Linked DNA regions of Homo sapiens: regions 1, 2 and 3 are each linked to region 4. The links are contacts of gene promoters, found by promoter capture Hi-C in blood cells and fetal thymus (Javierre and others, 2016). All regions are on one chromosome and are shown on one strand. Each heading gives the region's core, a stretch centred on a gene start or on the middle of the fragment in contact. The rest is flanking DNA. Distances are from core to core; before and after follow the strand shown.

Region 1 (2,743 bases), core at 68-2,567, about 17 Mb before region 4:
CTAACAAATGACAGGATTTTAATGAACTCAGCAAAGATTTGAATATTATCTACAAGGTACCACAAGGGATTGGCTGCCTTATACAAAGAGGAATAATTTTGTATTTTACCTCAAGGTGCTTATCAAGAAAGCCAAAATCATAAAAAGACAGACTTGTGGAATTTTGGCGGCTTCCTCTTGAAACTAGAACAAAAACTCTGTTCTAGGTACTTGAGTAGGTTGTTCTGAGGGGCATGTGGGTATACATGTAAGTTCCTGGTGTTCCCATATTAGATATTACTGACTCTCAGTCCAGTTCTGTTTGCATCCCATTCTGCGGCATCCCACAGTTATATGGTGCTGTGAATTATTGCACTGGGGTTGTTAGGGTAGAGAAAACTGAAACAATGAGTCATCCTTGCCTTTCACTTTCCTAAATTGCCCACAAGCTAATGTCCCAAACTCAGTATTTTTCCCTTACAGATCATTCTGAGTATTGCTGCTGTAACAATTTTCCTAAGTTGTTACTGTTATAACATTATTACTCTAACTCTTATTTCTAGTCTTGCTCTGAACTTTTTAACAGTTTTTTGTTGCCTCCTTAACTATAGCTCCTCTATATGGCTTTCAATCCCTTCTCTGATATAGCTCAACTCTTCCTACCCAACTGTTTCCTGATACTACCCATTATAGACACTTTGCTTGTCAGATAAGTACATTATCTGTGTCTTGTATATAATCATACCATTTCCTTGCTCTTGCTTATGTTGCTATTTTTTCTTCCCACCCCTTAAATCATACATCCTTCAGAGTCTAGTTTAAATCTTGGTTCCGACTTGAAACATCCCTAATTTCTTACTTCTTCACTTTCTCAACAAAGATGAATCCTATGTGACAGGTGTTGTGGTGGGTGCATTACACACCTTCCAGTCTACAAGGTTAAGGTATTATCCCTATTGAGTGAGTGCTTGCTGTGTATGCTAAGCTTGTATTTGCATGCAATGTTTCACTTAAACTCTATGAGAACGTGTTATTTACATTTTACAGTGGCTAACTGTAAGTGGAGATGTGAAGTTTAAAGAGGTTAAGTAAATTCTCCAACATCATTCAGCTAATACATAATAAAGCTGACATTCGAATCCATTTGTGTTTGACTTATTATTGTTTCTAATAAGTGAAAACACAGTGTCTCACCTCAAAGACTCACAGTCTGGTAGAGGAGAAACATAGTACACAGACAGTCTTAATGCCTTGTGGTAAGTTCTGTGATGGAGCTAAGCCCACCGTCGTGTAGAAGCACATTAGGACGGGTGCTGATCTAGAATGAGAAGATGAGGAAGGGCTTCCGGGAGAAAATTCTGAGCTGAATCTTAAAGCAGTAGTCAAGAGTTCTGAGAAATGGGAAAGACTGAAAAACTGTCACTGATTGGAAGGTTCTGAGAAGATATGACAACTAAGGTGGTATGCTGGACTGGGGTCTAGGAACATAAAAAAGACATTAATGGAAAAAGTGAAGAGCTCCAAATAAATTATGTAGTCAATAGTCATGTACCAGTGTTAATATCTTAGTTTTGACTAACATGCTGTGCTTATGTAAAGTGCTAACATTTGTGGAAGCTAGGTGAAGCGTATGCAGGAACTCTGTAATTCTTCTGTAAATCTAAAATTATTTCAAAATTAAAAGTTAAAAAATAAGCTTACTCTTAGGAAATAAAAAAGAAGTAATTAGAAAACGTGTTCTATGTAGATAGCAGAGAGTGCAAAACCATGGAGAGAAAGTTGACTTTGAAGGGTTGCGTTTAAGTAATTGAAGCCATTGTTCTATGCTGAGAAACAAGAAGAGAGGATATTCCTTTTTTCTGAGGAAGCTTATCAGAATCAATTAGGGAAAGTTTTCTTGGCCAACAGTAGCCCCCTACCCACCACTGTCTCAAGGAAGCCATATCTAAAGGACCTCTTCATATTGATAGGGTGTGTCTGGGGGATGGGGGAAATTGTTGGAGTTATGAACTATTTTAATAGAGCACAGTGTTAAGTGAAAAAGTAGTTCAAGTTAGACTGGGATCAGACTACCAAAGCCTTAAGAATTTAGATCATTTCCTAAAGTCAGAGGGAAAACAGTGAAGGATTTTAGCTTTATCTGAGCAAGTAATATGGTCAAATTTGCAAAATTAGTCTGGTGTGACTGTGAAAGCTGCATTGAAGGACTGTACCTGGAGACTGTAGGAAGCCCTGAAGAGTGGCCCAGGCTGGAGATGTTAAGCTTCTGAACTGAAGTACTCATGGGAATGGAGAAGAGGCTCCAGCCAAAGGGCAGGTTATATATCGCAAATGCTTTGTTGCTCATACATTCTTGATCTTATACCATTTCATACAACCATGCCTCCTGGCTGACAGCACTTACAAGAGACCATTGATTATAAGATGCATTCTAATTTCAAAGAGATGAACAAGTGAAAATCAAGTGTCTTGAACTAATAAAATAGGATAGTAGTGGTCCCAGTTTGCAACAAATTTAGTGTGTTGTAATACAGTAGCTCTCCCTTGTCCACAGAGGATATGTTCCAGGACCCTCAGTGGATGCCTAGAACCACAGGTAATACCAGACACTCTATATAGTAAATGTTTTCCTATACATACATACCTATGATAAAGTTTAAGTTATAAATCAGGCACAGAGATTAACATCAATAACTAATAAAATAGAACAATTATAACAATATGTCAGCATCACTACCCTTATACTTTGGGGCCATTATTAAGT
Region 2 (2,700 bases), core at 174-2,673, about 16 Mb before region 4:
ATACAAAAGAATGATTTTACTTTTTCCAAAAAAGTGGAAATGACTAAGATAATGTCTACTTACTTTAAATGAACTTCAGTTTGGGAATGTATTGCTTCTCCCAACACATTTCCAGTTTCATCCACCACAGCAGCTGCTGTATCATCACAACTAGTTTCAATTCCCAATACTATTTTATGAAGAAATAGTGTTCCAGGATGAAAATTAAAACTTCTTAAAAATTCATAAACTTTCCTTTTTGATGGTTTAAAAAAAACTCCTGCAGTCTTAGTCAAGATTAGCATACTTACTCTATAGATAATTCCTGAAAAAGAATTACAGAAACAACTTATTATTTGCAACTGACATTAGCCAGCTTATTTTTCAATATATAGTTTTACAGAATTACAGGAAAGTTTGTAAAAGTCACCAAAAGTTTGTAAAGGCTATAGCAACATGGGAATATAAATAATATTATGAATGAATATAATGTTCTCCAAGGGGGAAAACAGGGGTCAGATATAAAATTTTTTAGTATTATTATTACTTGCATGCTGTTCCTACCAAAAGACTTACTATTAAGACAGCTAATATAAAGTACAATAATTGATAGAGTCCTCTGAAAAGTGCTATTTATTTTTTGACAGCTAAAATTAAGACAAAATGTGGATTTTCTAAAAAGAATCAAACAACAAAGGCAGATGGAACAGATAAAAATACTGTTAATGTATTCCATCTCCTAAAAACATCTTTCAAAATAAAACTGGATCATTTGGTTCAAAAACAAGAGTTAACATAAACACACACACGCCAACTGCAACCTAACACCTATTTTATCCTTAATTGCAATCTTTGGAATTAAATCTCCACTTTTTGCTACAGGTTTTGTCATAACAAGGATCTTCCCAAATCCTTTTCCCCCAAAATAATAGCAGCCCATCACTAAAGCACACTAGTATTTTCACACTGCGAAGCACCTAATTTTATGCCCCCAGATCATCCGTTCTAAAACTTTCTGGGTGTTAAAGCAGGGCCTTTCTCCACCACACTAAAGGGACACGGCATCCCAGGGATTAGAGATGAGCGACCTATTTGCAGAAGGCAGTTGCGGGCAGTGCAGCCCAGACAGACACAACCTAGAGGAATTAGATTTGCATTAACAAAATCTGGACAAGGAGGATTGTACGAAGCACTACCCTTTCGGGCCAAGAAAGCTGCAGGCTGAACCCACGTGACTTGGGTAGCGCTGGTCTCCTGTCGGCTGTAAGGCGGCGACGGGCGCAAACTGGAACCGCTTTTCCAGGTGCGCAAAAGCGTCAGTGGGGTGAAGAGTGAGCAATTTCACCCACCTTCCACTTGGGCGGCAGTAGCTAGCACTTGTCTCCTTTCCCTACTAAAGACTGTCGACTGCCCTTATCGCTGCAGGAGAAAGCCCGAACCTGGCGCCCGGAAGTGATGTCATCGGAACTGTGCAAGGTCCCGTCCAGAGCTGGCTGCTGTTCCGCTAGCGAGCGGCATGCTTAGTGAAGAAAAGCTTAAAGGCCGTCTTTGCCCAAAACGCTCTCTGTGCGCACCTGCATTTCCCCCAGATTTGCAGGTGATGAGAGTTCTGTAAAATTACACAGCTAGTGACTGATCCAGCGGAGGCCGAATACAGGTTTGTCTGACTACACAACATCAAGTTCCAAACACTAAGCTACATTAAAAAGAAATTTTTTTTTTGCCCTTGGCTGGAATTTGGTTGCTACTGTGAGAAAAGGATGGGGTAGATTATTCGTCATTCATTTTTAAGGGAACTATCATCAAATCTAAACTTAGGGGTGAGGTACCTGATACTTTCATCGGAGAAATAGGATGGAATCTAGCGGCGCCCCCTAGCAGGGTTACCAAAGAACGGAAGTGTTTCTCATCGGACAGTGTAAACCGTTTCTCCCACTTCACTAGGAAGAAAGGGGCTGGCTTATTTTTACAATTAAAAAAAAAAAAAATCGGGAGACTGAGGCAGGAGAACTGCTTGAACTGGGACCCGGGAGGCGGAGGTAGCAGTGAGCCGAGATCGCGCCACTGCACTCCAGCCTGAGCTACAGAGCGAGACTCTGTCTCAAAAAAAAAAAAAAAAAAAAAAAAAAGGCTGTGGTAAATATTCAGTTGCCTTAAACCATCCTATTTTCATAATGCATTATGTTGTCCTTCCTTACTATGTACATGAAATTCAGCATGGTATGTTTTCAAAGTCTTGCACCTGCTTTTTTTTTTTTTTTTCTTTTATTGGTTTGTGAACTTTGTTTTGAACATTGGACAGATTTATTCCAAGAGTCAGGCTTTTCCCCTGCTGGTATTTAAGATTTTAGTAAGCAAGGACCTTAGAATCCACTGTTGTACAGGGCTGGCATATATACCTGCACTTTGCACGTTGTGAAGCTCTGGGTATAAAAGATGAGTAAATCCCATAACAACATGTTGGGAAGCCACAGAGTACAGTCTAGAGGTGGATACAGATAAATAAGTAAATAATTACCAGAATATGGTTGAGGTTTTTTATTTGGAACTTATGTTTTTCAAAAATTTCATTTATGTGTAACAATAATGATAAAGTGGCACTATGTACCAGGCACCTGCTGTAGATTAATTTCTTTCAAAATCCCATGAAATAGTTTCTGTCCTCATTTTACAGGCAACTGGGCCACAGAGTTTGGGTGCTTTGGAGGTCACACAACTAGG
Region 3 (2,700 bases), core at 136-2,635, about 18 Mb after region 4:
TGACGTATGCCTTTTATTGTAGCGACATAGGCAAGTATGCCCAGTTCGTTAACAGTACATTTTAATTGCTTGCCACGGGGAAGCTGAACCAGATTTGACACCCAAAGTTATATCCTATATACTAAACATCGCAAGGGTACGACTCAACGTAATGCCAAAAAAGAAAAAGTTTCTGAGCAGAACACGTTTGCTGTCACTGAAAGCGATGAAACAAAGCTACTCCGCAAGGCGACTACACTCATTCTTTGGGCTCCCAAGGCTGAGAAATGGAGAACCAATTGGCCGGTTTGCTCTCTGTTGCTTCCCCCCCACCCGGCCTTCCTCCGAGTGGCGAGGCAATCCTGCACAAGAGTTTGTAAAGTGCTTAGGAAGCTTGTAGGATGAAAGACGCTATAAATACACCCAATGTTACTAGTTTATGACCACGGAGCATTCCGTGGAACCACTGTCACTGCGTCGGGGGCAGGTTGATGGCATAGACCTTCCTGGGGAGGGGGGCAGAGAGAGAGGGCAGCCCCTTCATCACCCTAAAAGCTAGGCTGGGTAAATTTTCAAAGTGTAGCGAAACCCCACGTGAAAAGTTCCACACACGCCCCACACAGGGAGGACTCCGCGGCTGCTAGCAGCGCCGGAGACTGGGCCTACAACCCCGGCAACGTGGGGAGGCGTGGGGCGGCCGAGGGGCCCCGGCCGCAGCCGACGCCCGCGGAGCGGCTGAAGGAGCAGCTCCCGGACGGGGGCGCGGCGCCAGGCCCGGGCTCCCGGCGCGGGGAACGGCCCGGGAGGGCGGCCGCGCCGGGGCCCCGCGCCGCCCGGTTGCCGGGAAGGCTCGCGCCCCGCGGCCGGCGGGCGTGGGGGAGGGGAGGCCGGGCCTGCGGCCTGTTGGGGGACTTCAGCCCGGGCCTCGCGTGCGGCTCTCGGCCCGGCCCCCGGCCCCGGGGTCCCGGACGCCGAGGAGAGACTCACCGGAAAGGCCCGGATCCGCATCTTGGTGTCCTTCCGGCTGCCCGTGCCTTTGCTCAGATTCGACATGGTGCTCGTCCCCTCCCCGGCGGCGGCTTCAGGTCGCGCTCCGCGACGCCGGTGTCACATTTAAGGCGGGCAGGCAGGCTAGGGGCGACGCTGGGGGCGGCGGCGGCGCGACCCCCGGGCAGGGCTGGGGAGCTGGCCGGCCCCTGGGCAGCCGCGGCGGCGGCGGGGGCGGCGGCGGCGGCGGCGGCGGCTCGGACTCTGGCGACTCCGATGCGGCTGGGGGGCTGCGCTGGCGCGGCGGCTCCGCGGGGTCCCCCTCACGTCCGGCTCGGCTCCCTTTATCGCGCTCCTCCGCGATGGCGGCGGCGGCGGCGACGGACAAACATCTCACTGCGCAGGCCGAACGTCGTCCTCCTCCTCCTCCTTCTCCTCCTCCGCCTGAGCGAGACGAGATCCGGCCCAGAGGGTGGAGGGGGGAGGAGGGAGGGAGGAGAGCCGGAGAGTGAGAGATGCCGGGGGAGGGAGGTGGGAGGACGGGAGGGGGAGCCCGGCGGCCGCCGCGGGGGACGCTCAGATCTCGCGAGAAGAGGGCGAGCGCGCTGCCCCCCTGGTGGGCGGGGCGAAGCCCGGGAGAGGGTGGGCGCCACCGGAGGGGAGGAGGGGAACAGGGAACTGAAGGAAGTGGGAGGGGCCGGCGGGGCGGGGAAGCGGAAAGGGGGCGTGGCTGAGGGCGGGAGGATTAAGCTGCCTTTTTGAAAGTGGAGCGCCAGGTCCCGGGTTCTGGGTGGAGGTGGTTGCTGATTGGTGGAGCTCGGAGCGGCGGTTGGGAGGGTCCTGGTCACATGGTGGGGAGTGGGAGGGGGGAAGTTCGGAGAGCGGGAGCGGGATGGTAGTGGGCTGGGCCCCACTGGGCTGGGACAGCAGGAGGATAGTCTTGAGGAGGAGCGTGGGGTGCTAGATGTGTAACTACGTCCCGAACTGGTTCCTGTGTTTTTCTAGGGCATGTGGACTAGGGATGGGTACTTGAGTAGAAGCCTGCAACTTGAAGAGTTTGTGCAGGAGTTAGCTGCAGTGTCGGAAATTAGTGTCCTGTATGCTCAACAAGGTATTCGGACTGGGTGTGCACACCACAGCTCTCAGGACTGGAAGGTGGAAATTTAATCTACGAAGTTCCCTTAAACTGCATAAGCTTCGGGACCTCTTGATTCACTGATATTTTCTGGTGGACCCAGGGCTTATTCATGTTAAAACCTGTTTTTCATTACCATCAGAATAAACTGACAGCTCCATTAATGAAATGCAGCATTTGGTAAATAATGTTAAGTGGAATGATAGAAACCTATCTTTAACCTACCGGATAAATCATTTCTACCATTACCAAGAGTATTGTAGATTTTTAAAGCCAAAATTACCGTCTGATTCAGTTGCTGTATATTTGAAAAGGTTTTGGCTTTTGGTTTTGGAGGAGAGGCGTTTGGTCGCTTTATAGTCAAAATGTCTAATTTGACTTATCGGTTTTGCTGTCCATTTGTTATGAATTGTACTTCCTCATTTACCTACTTGCCCAATTGCTGTTATGTTTGGGTTTCTGACTCTGCAAGGGAATACGTGAGTTCTTATTAAAGTTTGTGTTCTTCCTATTTTAAAGAAGCATATGTTTGGGGGATGGATATCTACATTTAGAAGCTGGAATTTTAATACTTTTAAATAGCAAACAATATAAAGTGA
Region 4 (2,700 bases), core at 93-2,592:
ACAGGCGCCCGCCACCACGCCCAGCTAATTTTTTGTATTTTTAGTAGAGACAGGGTTTCACCGTGTTAGCCAGGATGGTCTCGATCTCCTGGCCTCGTGATCCGCCCGCCTCGGCCTCCCAAAGTGGTGGGATTACAGGAGTGAGCCACCGCCTCCGGCCTTCAATAGCTTAACAGGTCACCAAGCTTCCACACTATTCCCACACAGCCTCTCCCCTCTTGCCACCGGCTGTGACCTCAGACTGAAATGCTCTTCCCTGGCCCCTCCTTATCCTTCAAATCTTGGCTTAAAAGCCTTTTCTCAGTTTCATTGACCAGGCTATCTAACATTTACGATTCCCCCAGCATATCATCCATTTTATTCTTCTTTACGGACTCATTTCTGGCTCGTAGTAAATGTTCAATAACGGTTAAGTGAACTGAATCTCTAATTTCTGGTCGTTAATTTGTAGAGACCACTTTCCCGGATTTAAAAAGTGCAGGTGCTCTGGCAGCCTTAAGTCGGTGAAAACAAGAATATTCCGCAAAACAAAAATAACTTGTTTATTCATCAAAAACAGTTAACGTTACACTTCTATACCGTCAATTCGTGTGTGAACAGAGTTGTGTCTGATCCAAGACCTTACAGTTCAAGCACTGGATCCCAATAACCTGTAAACAACGTTTTGTTATTTGCAATGCAATCCTGGGCTAACTTTTCAAAAGTCGTTTTTCTCAATTTCCCGTTAGTTAAAGGAATAAAAAAATGCTGTCCAACGTGGTCAATGGACCAAACAAACAAGGACAACAAACAGAAGCGTGAGCCATTGCTAACACAACAGCGACCAAACAATCATGCACTGTATCAGGCGTGTAAAAATCTGGGGGGAAAGGCTTAGTCTTAAGGCCTAAGTCATCGGACACTGGTCCTCTCCCGGGGAATAAAACGGCCTCCTCCTCTGAGAGGGAAATGTCCTGAATTTTCCCTGCAGAGGGAAGGTCACCTGCAAGCCTACATTCGTGACAGCGTTCCCGAGGACCCCCTGATCCTCATCTTCTTTTCTGCTTCATCAGACCAGAGACCGTGGCTAAAAGCCCCCCATCTGCCGGCTCTCAGGGGCTTCCGAGGCGGCGGGGCGGGAGGCGGCGCCCAGTCAAGGACAACAGAAGACTACGTCGCGTGGGCCAAAGGAAACAGTCCCGTCAATAAATAAGCCTCTGGCCGACGCACCTCACCCTTCCCATCCATACAAGACCTCACCTTCTCCCCGGAGCCGCGGAGGCTGTTCTGCTAAACTGTCTGGACCACGACGACCCCCTAGGAGGCCGGGTCGCTTATTCAATATGGCGGCCTCGGCTAACTCTGTCAGCCGGGCCTGGAGAACGGAAAGCCCGGAGGGACTAGAATCCTTGCATTCGACAAGTTTGTCGGCAATTTCCGTCAGCCGACCAGAGGGCGGAGCTGAGGTCGGCCCAGCCCGGAGGCGGGAAGGACAACTTGGACCCGCAGTTCCGCCGGAAGTGGCCCCAGCCTCGAGGCCGGGCGTCTTCGGTCATCTCCGGCGCTTCTAGGGCTGGTTCCCGTCATCTTCGGGAGCCGTGGAGGTACGAACTTAAGACATGCCTATTTTATTAATTTACTTCCAAACGCAACGAAAGGTCCATGGACAATTTGTGGGCCATTTAATTCAGGGCCCCCAATTCGTACGTGGAGAAGTGGGAATGCAAAAGTACTTTGACCTTTAACCTTCGGTCCGGCGCGGTGGAGGGAAACGCCTCCGTCTCTATATAAGGAATTTTCCGGTCTCTTCGGGTCCTTTTTCCTCTCTTCAGCGTGGGGCGCCCACAATTTGCGCGCTCTCTTTCTGCTGCTCCCCAGCTCTCGGATACAGCCGACACCATGGGTTTCGGAGACCTGAAAAGCCCTGCCGGCCTCCAGGTGCTCAACGATTACCTGGCGGACAAGAGCTACATCGAGGGGTGAGCGGACGGGCTGAGTCGGGGTGGCGGGGAGGTTTCTCCGCCCGGGGCCGGGGCCACGTGGCGCAGCGTGTCGGCTGCCGCGGGAGGGAGGGAGGCCGGGCCCGGGGCCCTTTCGAGAGGGAGGGGAAAGCGCCCCGTTGCCGTCTCCCAAGGCCCTCGTGTGGGGCGAGCCCGGCCTCCGGGGAGCGGTTCACGAGCAAGGAAAGGTTAAAATGTGCTTTATTTACACTTAATTCAGCCAGGTGTTTCCGCATCGCTGCCCAGTTAATACATGTTAAGCTGTAGATAGAGCAACGCCAGACATTGCAGTATTTGAGGTCTACTTAGTGGCAGACATTTCTCAGGATAGCGCGGTGACCCAAACATATGGTTTGATTTGAAGGAGCTAATAAGAAAAGAAAAGCATTAAAGCAACCCTGCTGGGGTTAGTGCCCACTAATTAATGTGATGCATACGGTATTTATTATTTATTCGCTGGCGTTTGTTTTTCAAAGGTGTGTGTGAATGTTTCTGTGTCCTTGGCAGGTATGTGCCATCACAAGCAGATGTGGCAGTATTTGAAGCCGTGTCCAGCCCACCGCCTGCCGACTTGTGTCATGCCCTACGTTGGTATAATCACATCAAGTCTTACGAAAAGGAAAAGGCCAGGTAAAATCATCTTTGTATAGAGCTGAAGAATAAGACTGCTCTCGAAGTTTATCAGGATGTTCACATGACAAAACTGGACCCAGGCTACTTT

What was found. Contacts are between HindIII fragments. The CHiCAGO score rates a contact against its expected background, and 5 or more counts as called.
Region 1: a fragment that was not itself captured here is called in contact with the fragment with the promoter of NDUFS1 in region 4 in 1 of 17 cell types (total CD8 T cells); the score reaches 9.8 in total CD8 T cells.
Region 2: the fragment with the promoter of OSGEPL1-AS1 here is called in contact with the fragment with the promoter of NDUFS1 in region 4 in 1 of 17 cell types (activated CD4 T cells); the score reaches 5.4 in activated CD4 T cells.
Region 3: a contact is called between the fragment with the promoter of CUL3 here and the fragment with the promoter of NDUFS1 in region 4, in 1 of 17 cell types (erythroblasts). The highest score is 6.8, in erythroblasts.

What each region holds. Positions count from the first base shown.
Region 1 is chr2:189,444,144-189,446,886 of GRCh38, forward strand. The region is part of intron 1 of WDR75 (WD repeat domain 75); the gene reads left to right. Among named protein-coding and RNA genes, the nearest start is that of WDR75, 4.0 kb to the left of the region's middle. The HindIII fragment of the contact is 711 bases long and covers 963-1,673 here.
Region 2 is chr2:189,761,357-189,764,056 of GRCh38, forward strand. It overlaps OSGEPL1-AS1 (OSGEPL1 antisense RNA 1), which reads left to right and starts at 1,424. Exons shown (of 2, transcript NR_102429.1): 1 at 1,424-1,636. It overlaps OSGEPL1 (O-sialoglycoprotein endopeptidase like 1), which reads right to left and starts at 1,436. Exons shown (of 9, transcript NM_022353.3): 1 at 1,329-1,436; 2 at 64-304. The coding sequence starts at 284. It also overlaps a transcript of ANKAR not described here and a transcript of ORMDL1 not described here. RefSeq lists enhancers at 919-1,078, 1,365-2,111. The HindIII fragment of the contact is 3,776 bases long and covers 1-1,511 here.
Region 3 is chr2:224,583,978-224,586,677 of GRCh38, forward strand. CUL3 (cullin 3) reads right to left here and starts at 1,386. Exons shown (of 16, transcript NM_003590.5): 1 at 967-1,386. The coding sequence starts at 1,032. RefSeq lists silencers at 850-1,109, 1,440-1,859. The HindIII fragment of the contact is 1,789 bases long and covers 371-2,159 here.
Region 4 is chr2:206,158,102-206,160,801 of GRCh38, forward strand. NDUFS1 (NADH:ubiquinone oxidoreductase core subunit S1) reads right to left here and starts at 1,343. Exons shown (of 19, transcript NM_005006.7): 1 at 1,240-1,343. EEF1B2 (eukaryotic translation elongation factor 1 beta 2) reads left to right here and starts at 1,794. Exons shown (of 6, transcript NM_001959.4): 1 at 1,794-1,958; 2 at 2,487-2,609. The coding sequence starts at 1,879. RefSeq lists enhancers at 1,021-1,430, 1,541-1,800 and a silencer at 2,061-2,130. The HindIII fragment of the contact is 3,079 bases long and covers 184-2,700 here.